Regions from separate parts of the Homo sapiens genome. Here all the other regions are linked to region 1. The links are contacts of gene promoters, found by promoter capture Hi-C in human tissues and cell types (Jung and others, 2019). All regions are on one chromosome and are shown on one strand. Each heading gives the region's core, a stretch centred on a gene start or on the middle of the fragment in contact. The rest is flanking DNA. Distances are from core to core; before and after follow the strand shown.

Region 1 (2,835 bases), core at 97-2,596:
ATGCCCGGCTAATGTCTTGTATTTTCAGTAGAGACGGGGTTTCACCGTATTAGCCAGGATGGTCTCGATCTCCTGACCTCGTGATCTGCCCACCTCAGCCTCCCAAAGTGCTGGGATTACAGGCGTGAGCCACGCGCCCGGCCAGGTGTATAAGTATTTAGGTAACTTTATAACAAAATACATTTACATTAAGGGCCAGACTGTCTTTTCCTTTTAAAGGGAAATACTGAAGCTAATTTAGGAGAGGCAAACTAACATAAAATATAAGGCAAAGGAGTGGGAACCAAGGCATTTGGTATCTATTTCTAGCTCACTGGGCAGCAGTCCTCTGTGTCTTGAATTCTGTGATTTGCGAAATATGATTCATAGGGGTTGCAATGGAATATTTCTGAGTTTTTAAACTAATGAGGGATAAATTTTTAAAATCCCTGTGCTGCTGTGAATGTTCTAGAAATTATTCACAAGTTTATTATAGCAAAGAAAATGGGCAAAAGGAAGGGGGTGGGTACAGGACGTGACACTCCAGAAAAGAAGGCAGTGACGTAAAAAATCAAGAGGAAGTCCACACCAGGAAATAGTGCTGTGCACATTAGAGCTGTTACTGAATAAATACTTGTTGGAATTTCCAGAGATAACCAAACAAACATGAAGAAGGAAGTGGGTTTTTTTTTCAGCTTTATTATGGAAAATATCTAATATGTACAAAAGTACCGAGAATAGTAAATAAGAACGACCATGCAGCTTCTATGGCCTTACTTAACGGCCAACTTGCTTTATTTTTCACCTCCCGCTCCCCACTATTCTCAAGCAAATTCCAGACATCATACCATTTAACCCCTAAATATGTCGCACATATCTCTAATGCAAAAGATTGGGAACCAAGACATTTGGTGTCTATGGCTAGCACACTGGATAGCAGCCCTCTGTGTCTTGAATTCGTAACATGTAGAATAAGATTTATAGTGGGTTGCAACCCGACTTTATTTTTAACTAACAGCAATATAAGAGGAGGTGGCTAATCCTCACAAGGCTCTCCATGAGGGAAGCTCACCCCTATAAATCCAGGCGGGCGCTTCGTTACCCAGGAGCCCAAGGTGCAGCTCCGGGACGCTTCTTTTCAAGGCCGGGACCCCTGCAGCGGCCCGTAGGACACCTCCCTTTCCGAGCACGGACTGGTCCCCGCCCCTCCCCCGGGAAGTCTCCGCCCACAGGGCCCCAGCAGCCCCCGCGCGCCCTCGCTCCCTCCCGTCAGCCCCCGCCCCTCGGCGAAGGGAGCGGCGTGCCGTCCGGGTCGCCTAGGCCTGGGGTCGGGAGCGCGCACGCTGTGCGCCCTGGGCGCGCTCGGGATTCTCGCCTGGCGCGGCTGGGGAAGGTGAACAGTGTGGCCCGCCATGTTCTTCTCCGCGGCGCTCCGGGCCCGGGCGGCTGGCCTCACCGCCCACTGGGTAAGGAGGCTCAAGCTGAGCCCGGCGCTGCCGCCGCCCTTCTCTTGCTCTCCGTGTCTCCCTTAGTTTTGGGCGCAGGAGAGCCCTGGGCTCTGCACGGGCCTGCAGGCGGCGGCAAGGACACTGCGGCCTTAGCCCTCTTAGGGAGGCCGCTGCAGCCCCACCGTGAGAAGCCCCGAGGGAGGGTTGCCATACTGGGAAGTGTACTCCTAGTTTGGTCGAGGAGGACAGAAAAGAGGGGCTGCTTGGTGATATATATATATATGTTTGTTTGTTTTTGCTGTTTTGCTGTAGCGCAGAATCTAGGCCTGCTCTGGCCAGATCAGTTTCGAAGACCGTCGCTCCGAAGGAGGCACCTCTCGTTTCAAGCCTAGTGACCTCGATGCTTTTAGGTTGCAGCATACTGGAGAGCTCTGGCTTGCTTCGTGAAGGCTTAGGGAGAACTTCATTAGGGCTGGAAAAGGGTGGCCAATGTTTGATTTACTGCAGTTGTGCTTTGCATATCGGAAATGCTGGCTAAATAAACGGTATCAAACTAACTCTGAAAGAACGGCGCCGCAAATAACAGCACCCAATTAAAGAACCACAGGATTTTAGAGATTAAATGATCTTTTTGAGATCCAAGTACATCTCATGGTAGGCAAGGAAATTGAATTGCAGAGAAGTTGAAACACTCCTTCACGTTAATCTAAAAATGCAGATTTCCAGAAATGTCGATTATAACAACAGGGCCTGTTACACAAGTAATACTGGAAAGAAGCCTTAGTTTTGTTTGTTTTCTAAGAGTGAAATAGGTTAAGTCAGTTCTCAGCAAGAGGGAGCTAGTGTATATTCATTGAGAATGAATTCAGGGCTTTAGAGTTAGACTCGAGTTTGGATGTTAGCTTAACTGCCTTTTGTGGCTCTATGACTTTGTGCTGTTAATCTTCCTCAGTTTCTTCAGTTGTAAAATGGGAATATTCCTTTTTGCAGAGTTCAGTCTTTCAATAAACATTTGAAGTCTTACTGTACGTCATGCACTGCTGAGCTCTAGTTAACAGTGTGGATAATAATGATAGTCATTTGATAACTGTTTTCTGTATGCCAAGCACCGAGTTAAATATCTACATTCCACATCTCATTTTTGAGGCTGGTATTACTTTTTCCTCATATTACAGATAAGGAAAAGATTTAGACAGTTCCCGTTCTTTTGGAATTGATAGTCTCATGTAAGAGGAACTTTAAGGTTGAGACAATGTAAAAGTACAGTGTTAGAGAGATGAATAGGGTCATCCAATGTGGTTTCAAGGTGCATAAGATTTTTCCTGAAGGTAATACTAACAGATTGGGCATGGGGTCCGAGGGTATTCTAGGTGGAAAGGACAACTTAAAGTCTTGTTGGCAAGAAAAA
Region 2 (2,835 bases), core at 162-2,661, 460 kb before region 1:
ATATATGCAATCCTGGGTAAGTTTTGGTTATAAGTTACCTATTTCCCTCCAAATTATTATATTTCATTCATTACCCCAGTGTCTAGTGTACATACACTGGGAAACCTAGTACTTCTAATATGAAGAATGGGAGAAATGAAAGGTATAATGTTTCTTGAAATAAATAATATAATTGTCCTTATTAATTATATTATGAGGACAGAAGATATTCTGATAAGAGAGAACGTGGTGCTTTGCTTACCGTTTTAAAGAAAATTTGTAAAACTAAAGACTTTTTGAAAAAAAGCTATCTTAAGTGCTTTTTCTTTATTTACAAGACATTTCCCCCAGTGGTAGCATCTGAAGTATTGGAGTGTTTCTGCCACGAAGCAAAGCTCCATTCATGGCCGTCATGGAAGGTTATTTATTAATGTTACATAATGGTAGAATATTACTAGTTAGAGGGTTGGATTTGACTTGGTCCTAAGGCCACAGAATCTCTCTCATGGCTTCCTAAGGGATGTACCTTTATGCTTTTAAGAACTACAAAGATTCAATAAAGAAAGAAATGTTTTTGAAACTATAGAAAAAGATTTTAAAACACGCTGCTGTCCTAAACAAATCCTGTTTAAAGGAATTTTAAAGAGATGCATTTTACTATATCAAAGAACATACGTGTATTTGCCTAAACACTCTGTACCTTTGTAATGATAAAACTTCCCCCTTCTTTACGGTGAAGCTTATTCTGATTAAGCCTAGACTGTGTTCTTTTTTTTTTTTTTTTTTTTTTTTTTTTTTTTTTTTTTTTTTTTTGGTCTGATGATGAATTTGTGAACTCTATCTTTGGTATATCTTTTATTAAACTGCACTGTTTTGTTTAGTCAAGGTAATTAAGTAATTATGTATTTGAATAACTTGGTGTGTCTTGAGTGTTGTGGTATGAAAAGCATTGTGGTCTTTCTACACTAATGAAGTGCAAATAAAATTTTGTATTTATGAATGAAGTTGAGTTGCCATATTTATTTATCCAATTATAAATTGTATATATGACAGTATTCTCCATGAGCTCCACAGCTTAATCCTTTTGAGTGTTTAGACAGGAAAAGCATAGTCCTCCACTGGGGAAAAGAGTTTGATGTTTTCTCAAAGGGCTGAACATAGAGCTACCATATGATCCAGCAATTTGACTTCTAGGTTTATATCTAAAAGATCGAAAGCAGAGACTCAAACAGGTACTTGTACACCAGTGCCCACGGCAGCATTGTTCACGAGAGCCGAAAGGTGGAAACCGCCCCAATGTCCATCAGCAAAATAATGGATAAACAAAATGTGTGTTCTACAAACAATGGGATATTCATCCTTAAAAAGAAAGGAAATGCTGTCACATGTGCAGCGCGGATGAATCTTGAAGACATTACGCTGAGTGAAATAAGCAGGCCCAGAAGGACTGATACTGCCTGATTCCACTTACATGAGGTATATGGAGCACCCAGATTCATAGAGATGACGTAGAATGGTGGTTCCCAGGAGGGCGGGAGAGGGGATGAAGCATTGTTTCTGGGTGCAGAGTTTCAGCTGGGGAAGATGGACGGTGGCGATGGCAGCACAGCAGTGTGCAGGGACTTCTTTAGTGCCACTGAGCTGTAGCAAACTGGATTGTCGTGTCCTCCAGAAAAGATTTTTAGTTCGTGTATATGCCTTTATCAGCCACAGTCGATTACGACTGCTGGTGATTTACCTACCCTCACCTCCCACCCTGCCCTTCTGTGTTCTGCTCTGTGATGCTGGGGTTGGGACTCCCAACTATATTTGCCAAACCCTCTTGCTCTTCCTGTTAAAATCTGCTGATGGAGAGCTAGAAGTTGGCAGGAGGGAAGAAGGGGCTTGCTTGCCATTTTTCCGTTCCCATCAGCCTCCCTGGAGCAACAACAGACCACCAGCTCTAGCCTCCAGCTTCCTGCGGGACCCCTGGCTCCAACCTCACTGTGCCCTGTCAGAGGTACCAGTGGCATCTGGGCTTCTCAGTGTCCTGCCAGCTGGGTCATTCCAGCCCCTGCTGGACTGTACCCTCAGCAGTCCCTCTGCCCCCCAGGGTCCTGCTCCTCCGAGTCTGCACTCCCCTCCTCAGAAGCTTGGACCCAGTCTTGCAGGGGTCCTTCCTCTGAGCTCCTGAGTTGTGGCAGTGCCCTCCCCTTTTTGCCCCCAGGGCCCTAGGGTTGGTAGCTGCTTCCTTCACTTCATTGGTTTAGCATTTGAACAACCATGTAGTCCCCTGTATTAAATCCTTCTGTTTAGATATCCCGCATTGGTGTCTGTCTTCCTGACTGATAGAGGACCTGGAACCAGGAGTGATCTCAAGAAACAGATCCTCAAAGATGAGTTCAACAAAAAAAACGGTGGTGTTTGGCATGGGCATTTGTAGCTCATTCAGCAATCTGTGGTCTATTTTATGTTTACAACTCAATCTTAGTTTCTGCATTTTCAGTCTGTCAACTGTAGTATTAACAAAAGTGCTATCCTTGTTTAGTAGGATAGTTTGGGGGTTACAGTTGGACTTTGCAAGAAGGCAGTGTGGTTTATAGCTCTTGAGTTTAATTTTTGTTGTCGTTGTTGAGTTTTGCTCTTGTTGCCCAGACTGGAGTGCAATGGCGTGATCTCAGCTCAGTGCAACCTCCACCTCCCAGGTTCAAGCAATTCTCCTGCCTCAGCCTCCCGAGTAGCTGGGATTACAGGTGCACGCCACCACACCCAGCTAATTTTGTATTTTTAGTAGAGATGGGGTTTCACCATGTTGACCAGGCTGATCTCAAACTCCTGACCTCAGGTGATCCACCCACCTTGGCCTCCCAAAGTACT
Region 3 (2,835 bases), core at 108-2,607, 410 kb before region 1:
CACACCCAGCACTCCCTGTCATCAGATGCTCCATGTCCTTCTCACACTCACCTTGAGCTAGTAACTCTTCTCTGAGCTGTATTTCTTCAAAGAAGATTTCTGAACAGCTTCAGCAACTTTAAGGTCAGGTCACTTGCAAAGCTCAGCTCTCTCCTTGGCAAGCTTCTGTGTCTTTCTTTGTTCTCACAGCCTGTTCTTGAAGGTAGGGTCACTCCGTCTCTTGTGGCCTAAGTAAATGCAGTACCCAATGAAAAGGGCCCTGCGTACCCTGGCTATGACGGCACTGTTCTGGCCCAGCGTCTTTTGTAGACTGTGGCGTCAGGGTCTCAATTCCTAAATCAGCAATGAACATCTGCTGCTTAGTTCCTATTATTACTGTACATAAAAGGCTGCATTTCTTAAATTGGAAAAAAAAAATGGGCATTTTGTACATTCAAGTTGGCCTTCTAGTTAGTTCCCGACCAAATTAACCATTATCAAGATGTTTATATTTCACTGAATTCACGAGCTGTCTGACAGCAACAAAGGTCATATGAACATTGTGAAATCAGGAGTGAAAACATGGATGTGTCTTTTTTCTATTTCCCCCCTCATTTGAGATTTGCAGCGTACTTAACAGCAACTGATGTGGTATATTCTGTCCTTAAATTTAAAAATTATAAAAGTAAACACTCAGGTTGAATATTTGGAGGGAAACATTGATACTTTTGCACAGCAAAAATAAATACATATATTTCTCCTTTATTCAAGAAATTTCTCAGCAACTGGAAGTGCTGCTGTGAGACTTATCCTGAAATCTGCACACGCTGTGGTTATTCGTGCAGGAGAAACGTGGGAATGTGCTGGTTCCTACGGCAAAGGCCCCGGTTGGGGCTTCTCCCTCCCAAGCTGTGCGGTGACGCCAGCCACACATGCAAGGACAGCAAATTGGAAGTTGGTCATCACTGAGGACTTAGGAGAGCTTGGGTGGGTGTGTGGGGTAGATCTGAGGGGCTAAGGAAGGGGCACAATGACAGGGATGGGTGCTGGCTGTACCCGGCATGCAGTAGATGCTCAACAAAGGTGGAGTCTCAAGACAGATGGCTCAGAAGTCTTTGGGGAAGGGGAAGGAGAGGGAGTTCAAAGATGAACCTTTGGAGCCCAATATCAATTTAAAGGAGCAGAAAAGCAGTGCAGACAAGGAGGCTTCTCATCTCTAAGCATCTGCCTGTTCCTCTGCCTTCTAGAAGACACTTCCTGTTAGAATTTCAGGCTCATGCTCCTGGCCTTCCCTCTTCTCCCTGCTTGGATCAGAGTCTCGATCAGAACATAGCTCCTGGGAGACCCCACTGGCCTTCAAGACAGACAAACAGGAATAGGGGGATTGTGGCAAGTCTTTCCCCACTCAGTAATGTGGAGAAACTGCCACGGGAGATAAGCAGCTGAAAATGTTTCCATCTATGACCTAATAAGCCAAGTCAATTTCACACACACACACACACACACACACCATCAAAAACATCATGAATCCCGATGACATCACTTTTGCATCTGCAATGCTATTACTATTGTTAAGGGCCTTCTAAAGCACCTTGTTAAATCAGCATTTGATCCAATCACACTGCCTGCACTCAAATCAGCGTCTGAGACAGCCACAGGCCGTGCTTCTTCTTCACCGCACCGCACATAAGCACAACCCAAGCACGTACTTGGGCTGCTGACGCTTGGCCACTGCGTGTTTCCTCACGTAGCACAAAGGGACGCTGGGCCACGCAAGGTCGTGTTGTTCAATGGCAGCTGAAATGTCACAAGCAGGTTTCCTTGAGCCTTAATGGGTTTTGTTTTCCCAAAGTCTCAAAGAATCGAACCGCTTGCCCCCTTTCATCAGTCTTCTCAGAACACTCCCCCAGGACCGAATTTAAACTTCTGGAGGGATCAAAAATCAGCTAATTAATCAGGAGCTCAAAGCCAGCCTCTTCCTGGATCAGCGCATGGGGGTTGTGCTCCTCCACACTCACCGCCCTATTTAATGTTTTAATTAAAAAATTTCTTCCTCATCTTTTCCATTTTTAACTTGTATAGAACTCGTTTGAGTGGAACTCTTTCGTCCTATGGGCTCCATGCACTCCCAAAGGCCTCCGATTCTTGATGAGCATAAAACCTTCTCTCCACCATCATCTCACTTGCAAATGGAAATTCCAGAGCTGCTCCTGGCTCTGAGAACCCCAGGGCAGACATCTAGTGGGAACTTTCCATGAGGAAGCAAGACATCTCAGCATGTCTGACTGTTGTCTGAGGACCCTTAGCTCTTTCCTTCCAGCCACTTCTCTGGCATCTCTTTCCTCTGTGCATCCTGCAAAGTCGGCCCGTCTCACTCTTCGGAAAGACCCCAGCTCTGATGGTGGCCTGGTGCCCGCAGGGAGTAGAGAGTGTATGAGAGGAGGCAGCACCCAGTGGGGCAGGAGTGTGTGCACCGCCAGGCACTTCGGAGTTCAAAGCCCGGCCCTGCCACTTAACAGTGTTATGGTGTGGGGTGAGTGGCTTATTTGCCTTGTGTCTTGGTTTCTTCATCCGCAGCACTGAGAGAAAAATAATATCTGCCTTCCCCACCTTAGGACCCATTACCGCATTGACAAGGCTCATTTGCTACCTTCACCATAAAGCCTTGCCAAACCTAATTACTTCCCTTGTAGGTTTTTGTTCTTGTCTTCGAAATTTGCAAAACAGAAAACCTATTTATTTTCCGATGAGAAATGGAACTATCAAGCACATTGTTTGCCTGTAAGCAGATTTATACGGGAAGCTAAATTATTGTCAGGATGTTGGCTGTGCACGGCTCAGAGGCGCTGGTGTTGT
Region 4 (2,835 bases), core at 125-2,624, 370 kb before region 1:
GTTACTCTGGCACCGTCTGTTGAAAAGGCCACCTTTCCTCCATCGAATTACTTTTGCATTGTTGTCAAAAATCAGTTGGGCACATGTGTTTGGGTCTGTTTCTGGGTTCTCTGCTCTGTTCCATTGATCTCTGCCAGAGCCACCCAGCCTTGATCACTTAGCTATATATGTCCTGAAAGTGCTTTCTTGGTGCGGAGTCCGTGCCAGCCAGCAGATCCGAATCCCATTTGATCCCTCAATGGCATTTTGGCCCACTCACCTCTTTGCCTTTTGGTATGTCTGTGTCTCTCTACACAGCCCCGTCCTTATGAAACGCTGGATAAATATTTGTTCCATGGGTGAAGGTTTTATCATCTTTATTTTTCCCTTGAGAAAGAGCCAAAACATTATTTAAAAATCTCTTGCTGAGGAATTTCTGATTCTTTATATCATTACCTAAGGATAGTTAATAAAGGCCAGTAATTCCACTGTAGGTCAAGTTTTTTGACAATGACTGTGAGTCATGAAATTGGCCTGTTTGGTTAGTGATAAGCGAAGCCGCTTCTGTTCATCAACTTCCTGAACGTCAGCCAGGCTCCTCGCTGGGCTTGGACAACGCCGGCTTGTCCCCTGTGCGCTGTACAGCTGCCTTCTTTTTATTTCCTGTGCAGTCTCGCCCACAGCACTGCAGGCTCCGGGGGACCTTTTAGGGCAGATTATGGCACCCTTGGGATGGCTACCTTGGACGCAGCGATGCTGTGTGAACATTACTTTGCAGACTTCCTGAGAGATTGAAGATCCATCTATTTCTCTCCTTCTCTAAGACAGCCTTTCTTGGAAGATGGGAATCTCTGATAATGTGCAGGGCGTTTCAGCATTTTACCTACACGTTAGAATGGAACCTCTGACTTGTAGTGAAACAGACACTGTGCTTGCTGCTTTTCTTAAAAATAATTGGCTGGGTGCGGTGGCTCACGTCTGTTTTCCCAGCACTTTGGGGAGGCCGAGGTGGGCGGATCACGAGGTCAGGAGATCAAGACCATCCTGGCTAACACGGTGAAACCCCATCTCTACTAAAAATACAAAAAATTAGCCGGCCGTGGTGGCGGGCGCCTGTAGTCATAGCTACTCGGGAGGCTGAGGCAGGAGAATGGCGTGAACCCGGGAGTCAGAGCTTGCAGTGAGCCAAGATTGTGCCACTGCACTCCAGCCTGGGCGACAGAGCAAGACTCCATCTCAAAAAAAGATAAAAAAGTAAAAAATAATAATAATGATAATTAAAATAGGCTGGGCACGATGGTTCATGCCTCTAATCCCAGTACTTTAGGAGGCCGAGGCGGGCAGATCACCTGAGGTCAGGAGTTCAAGACCAGCCTAGCCAACATGGTGAAACCCCGTCTGTACTAAAAATACAAAAATTAGCCAGGCATGGTGGCAGGCGTCTGTAATCCCAGCTACTCAGGAGGCCGAGGCAAGAGAATCGCTTGAACCTGGGAGGCAGAGGTTGCAGTGAGCCAAGATCGCGTCATCGCACTCCAGCCTGGGGGGCAAGAGCGAGACTTCGTCTCAAGAAAAAAAATAATAATTAAAATATAGACAGCACATATTTCTGAATAATTTAGACTTTCACTAGGCAGTAAACTGCATCAAATTTGTAGCATTGTCTGTGCTATGGGAAAAATAGAAACTACTGCTCTTCTCAAAAAAAAAATTTTTTTTTGAGACAGAGTCCCACCCTGTCACCCAGGCTGGAGTGCAGTGGTGTGATCTCAGCTCACTGCAACCTCTGCCTCCCAGGTTCAAGTGATTCTCCTGCCTCAGTCTCCTGAGTAGCTGGGATTACAGGTGTGCACCACCACACCTGGCTAATTTTTGTATTTTCAGTAGAGACGGGGTTTCATTATGTTGTCCAGGCTGGTCTTGAACTCCTAACCTCAAGTGATCCACCTGTCTCAGCCTCCCAAAGTGCTGGGATTACAGGCGTGAGCCACTGTGTCCCGCCTCAAAATTTGTATTTGATTCTCTTGGGGTCTGTTGAATTTATATGCTACAAGTCATGTTATTGATGTAATATAATTTAGGTAACTTTATTCTTTTAATCTTCATTTTTTTTGAGACAGGGTCTCGCTCTGTTGCCCAGGGATCATGGCTCACTGCAGCCTTGACCTCTTGGGCTCAAGGGATCTTCCTGCCTCACCCTCCCGAGTAGCTGAGACTACAGGCGTGTGCCACCACACCCGGCTAATTTTTTTGATTTTTTAAATTTATTTATTTATTTATTTTTTAGTAGAGACTGGGTCTCATCATGTTGCCCAGGCTAGTCTCAAACTCCTGAGCTCAAACAATCCTCCCACCTCAGTTTCCCAAAGTTTTGGGATTACAGGGGTGAGCTGCCGTGTTTGGCTAATTTAGGTAACTTTTATCTTCAAGTGCAGAATCAAGAGTCAGAGAAATAGAAATGCTTAGAAAATACTCCATAGGATTCTCTACGGCCTGAGTGCTGTTTCTTGGTGTTGCTCAGACTCAAGTGAGCCATCGTACGTTGAAATGGTATGATTATGAGCCAAATAAGCAAGTTGTGTTGTTTTTTTCTCCCTGGTAATAAAAAATCATTCGCATTGAAAAGACGCCGAGTCACCCATACATAGTTACACAGCCCAACTGAATGTCTCCCTGTTGGGCAGGTAATCAGGCAGCACTTGAATTCTGACCTGAGAATAAGCCCCAGAGAGAGGATGGACCCCAGGTGCTGGCAGGGTGCCGCTCCCCATGGCTGTTTGTACAGGGTGGTTATTCTCCCCTGAAAGAATGTTGGGGGTGGGGGCAGTTAGGTGTGTGTTTGTTCCTTGCATCGTA
Region 5 (2,835 bases), core at 127-2,626, 310 kb before region 1:
TGCACTCATGTGTTGGCCTCATGTACTGCTTTTGAAATAAGTGGTTGCAAAACTGGCCAGGACAAAATGGAACCCTCCAGAAAATGAAGCCATGGTCATGGTGATGGAATTGTCCTAATAGAGGAGTAGCATTGCTAGGCACTCTAGTGATGGCCATGAAAAGCCTTCCTTTTCTGTTTGTGTTTGAGATTGTGAAGTTATCTTCTTAAGTGTGGGAAGTAATTTGTAAGCCACTTTCTCTGGAGGTAGGGAAGTTAGCCTTTGTCAATCAGTGTGGGATGCAGCTCTATTGGGGAAGACATGGACGGGAGTTCCGGAACACTGACGTGGGGAGAATGGTTACAATTGTCAAGACTAGTGTCTCAGCAGCCTCGGAAACAAGTGAGGGTGGTGGTGGTTTAGATAAGCTGCTTTAATAGGGAGATCAAGATGAATTTGATGTATAATCAGAATCCTAGGTAAGTGAACAAAAAAAGGGTTTTTTTTAGAATCAAACCTTTGGGGATTGGGTGGTAAAGGGAAATATTTATTTTTTTAGAAGACATTTATGTGTCATGTGAAACTTTTCTCCAAATGTATGTGGTTGTATGCAGTTGTGTGGCAGTAGAGTAATTCTAGGCTGAACCTTTTGCCATAGCACGTTTTGTATGTTGTTTTTTGTAACATTGGAGTGACGTTGGCATCCCAGCTAGGGGCAGTTGTCCGTGGGAGTTTTAATATTGCATTAGCAAAAATGGACAATAAAGGAAAATGAAACTTCTGATAATCAGGAGGATCTAAACCTGTCTGCTGTTGGGCAGGCAGCAGTCTCCAGAGACAACACTGGAGCCATCGTAGGTGAGTCCGACTTCCCCAGTGAACTGGCTCAAGGACCTCCCTTTCTGTGACTCTTCAAAGGTGTGGTTCAAACAGAAGAGCACGTTTTAAATCCAATGACACTGAAGTATGAGCTTCATATATTGTTTCAGATAAAAATGGCTTCTTAACATATATATTATTTATTAAAATTAAAACCAAACTAAATAGTTCATGCAATGTATAGAAACTAAACTAATAGATCTTTGCTTTTCTTAAACAATAAGCTTGATTAGGATGTCTGTTTTTACACCTAATAAAGCTTTTGGCTAGCACCTAATGCATTAAATAAGAAGGATTTTTACATTTTGAGTTTATAGAGTAATGTGTAGCTGGAAAGTAAAGCTGGCAGGAGAGCAGCCTAGGTGACCTGGAAACAGTCCTGCACGGAACACCTGAGAGAGGAGGGAAGCCCCAAGGGCAGATGTGGCCGCTGTGTTTACTGCTGTATCCCCCACGCTTTAGATGATGCCTAGCACTGGAGGTGCTCAATAAATATTGAATAAAACACTGCATAAAATAGAAAGTATCCTCTTAAATACATCGCTGAATTCCCAGGAAATTTAGGGGAATCTTCAAGAGTTGGAATTGATTTTAGATTTGAGACCCAGAAGGCCAGGCACGGTGGCTCACGCCTGTAATCTCAGCACTTTGGGAGGCTGAGGCAGGCAGATCACTTGAGGTCAGGAGTTCGAGACCAGCCTGACCAACATGGTGAAACCCTATCTCTACTAAAAATACAAAAATTAGCTGGGTGTCATGGTGGGTACCTATAATCCCAGCTGCTCGGGAGGCTGAGGCAGGAGAATCGCTTGAACCTGGGAGGTGGAGGTTGCAGTGAGCCGACGTCACGCCACTGCACTCCAGCCTGGGCGACAGAGCGAGACCCTGTCTCAAAAAACAAGCAAACAAAGAACTGAGAACCAGAGTGGTCTCTGTGGCCCTTGGGTGGGTGGATTAGGGAGATTGTTGCCAGAACTGGTAACTGGGAGCCTTGGGTTTCAGCAGCTCCAAGGGAACAGGAGATGGGGCCTGGGCCCAACATTGCAGGGAAAGAAAGGAAATGAATGAACAAGAGAAGCATCTGCCTGCTGGCCCCAGGGCAGGGAGCAGGGAGGCAGCACTGATACTTGTTTCCCCAGCATGAGCCTCTGGATCAGGAGTGGGAGGACTGAAGCTGGCCTCACCCAAGGTCAGGCTTTGAATTGATGTTACCAGTTTGGTCCGGGAATCCCCAAAGAAAGGGATTTATGTTATGTTGCTAGCTCCACCAAACAGGAAACCAATCTGGAGGCACATCCTCCACCCAAATCCATACTAGATCCATAGATAAGTGCCCCTGGGAGATGAAGTCACACAAGCCAGTAACGTCCAACAGGGACACAAGTTGGCAGACACGGCAAATAGCAGGATTCAACCCTAAGACTGCAGGTAATAGAATTATCAGATGGACGCTATCAGATAAGTGCCTACACAGCTATTAAAGGCAAGCAAACAGGAGAAGAGTATGTCACCATCATAAAAGACCACACATTTTCTAAATAATAGACCTTTTGGAAATGCAAAATTAGTCATTGAGGTCAATTCAACATGTAGGGAAATGCATCTTTTCAGAGAACCCCAAACAATGCTGAATATGTATAAGAGACTATAGTAGTCTCAAACAACTAGCAAATCAAAGAAGCATTTAATGCTGTCAGAAATTACTGAGTTTTTTGAAAATAAGATGTTTAAATCTCTAGCTTTCAAAGTTTTATGCTGAACTTGGTGAATCCCCAGTGTCTGATTTTCTGTCTCCGTTCTTCTTTCCTTAATACCCCTTTCTCATATCCCCAGTACTAAGGGAGGTGCTCTGCTCTTTTATTTTTTGCATTTTCTGTTCTTGGGTATGATCTTCACTCTTGACTACCCAGGTACCGATTAGGAAGAACAAACAGTATCCTCAGGGAGAAGTAGTAGATAAGTTAAAGGGACTCAGAA

What was found. The method cuts DNA at HindIII sites, captures the fragments that hold promoters and counts their contacts. A contact is called where the count stands out against the background at its distance.
Region 2: a contact is called between a fragment that was not itself captured here and the fragment with the promoter of NDUFV2 in region 1, in 1 of the 25 tissues and cell types used here (dorsolateral prefrontal cortex).
Region 3: a fragment that was not itself captured here is called in contact with the fragment with the promoter of NDUFV2 in region 1 in 1 of the 25 tissues and cell types used here (dorsolateral prefrontal cortex).
Region 4: a contact is called between a fragment that was not itself captured here and the fragment with the promoter of NDUFV2 in region 1, in 1 of the 25 tissues and cell types used here (lymphoblastoid cells).
Region 5: a contact is called between a fragment that was not itself captured here and the fragment with the promoter of NDUFV2 in region 1, in 1 of the 25 tissues and cell types used here (mesenchymal stem cells).

The regions. Positions count from the first base shown.
Region 1 is chr18:9,101,353-9,104,187 of GRCh38, forward strand. It overlaps NDUFV2 (NADH:ubiquinone oxidoreductase core subunit V2), which reads left to right and starts at 1,347. Exons shown (of 8, transcript NM_021074.5): 1 at 1,347-1,445. The coding sequence starts at 1,392. RefSeq lists a silencer at 1,075-1,434 and an enhancer at 1,707-2,416. The HindIII fragment of the contact is 4,084 bases long and covers 1-1,698 here.
Region 2 is chr18:8,638,401-8,641,235 of GRCh38, forward strand. It overlaps RAB12 (RAB12, member RAS oncogene family), which reads left to right. Exons shown (of 6, transcript NM_001025300.3): 6 at 1-983. Among named protein-coding and RNA genes, the nearest start is that of RAB12-AS1, 3.5 kb to the left of the region's middle. The HindIII fragment of the contact is 3,546 bases long and covers 1-2,835 here.
Region 3 is chr18:8,688,114-8,690,948 of GRCh38, forward strand. It overlaps the pseudogene TOMM20P3. Among named protein-coding and RNA genes, the nearest start is that of MTCL1, 16 kb to the right of the region's middle. RefSeq lists an enhancer at 2,044-2,835. The HindIII fragment of the contact is 5,020 bases long and covers 1-2,835 here.
Region 4 is chr18:8,730,028-8,732,862 of GRCh38, forward strand. The region is part of intron 3 of MTCL1 (microtubule crosslinking factor 1); the gene reads left to right. Among named protein-coding and RNA genes, the nearest start is that of GACAT2, 24 kb to the left of the region's middle. RefSeq lists an enhancer at 384-678. The HindIII fragment of the contact is 4,723 bases long and covers 1-2,835 here.
Region 5 is chr18:8,789,265-8,792,099 of GRCh38, forward strand. All of the region lies in intron 6 of MTCL1 (microtubule crosslinking factor 1), which reads left to right. Among named protein-coding and RNA genes, the nearest start is that of GACAT2, 83 kb to the left of the region's middle. RefSeq lists an enhancer at 1,247-1,770. The HindIII fragment of the contact is 3,706 bases long and covers 1-2,835 here.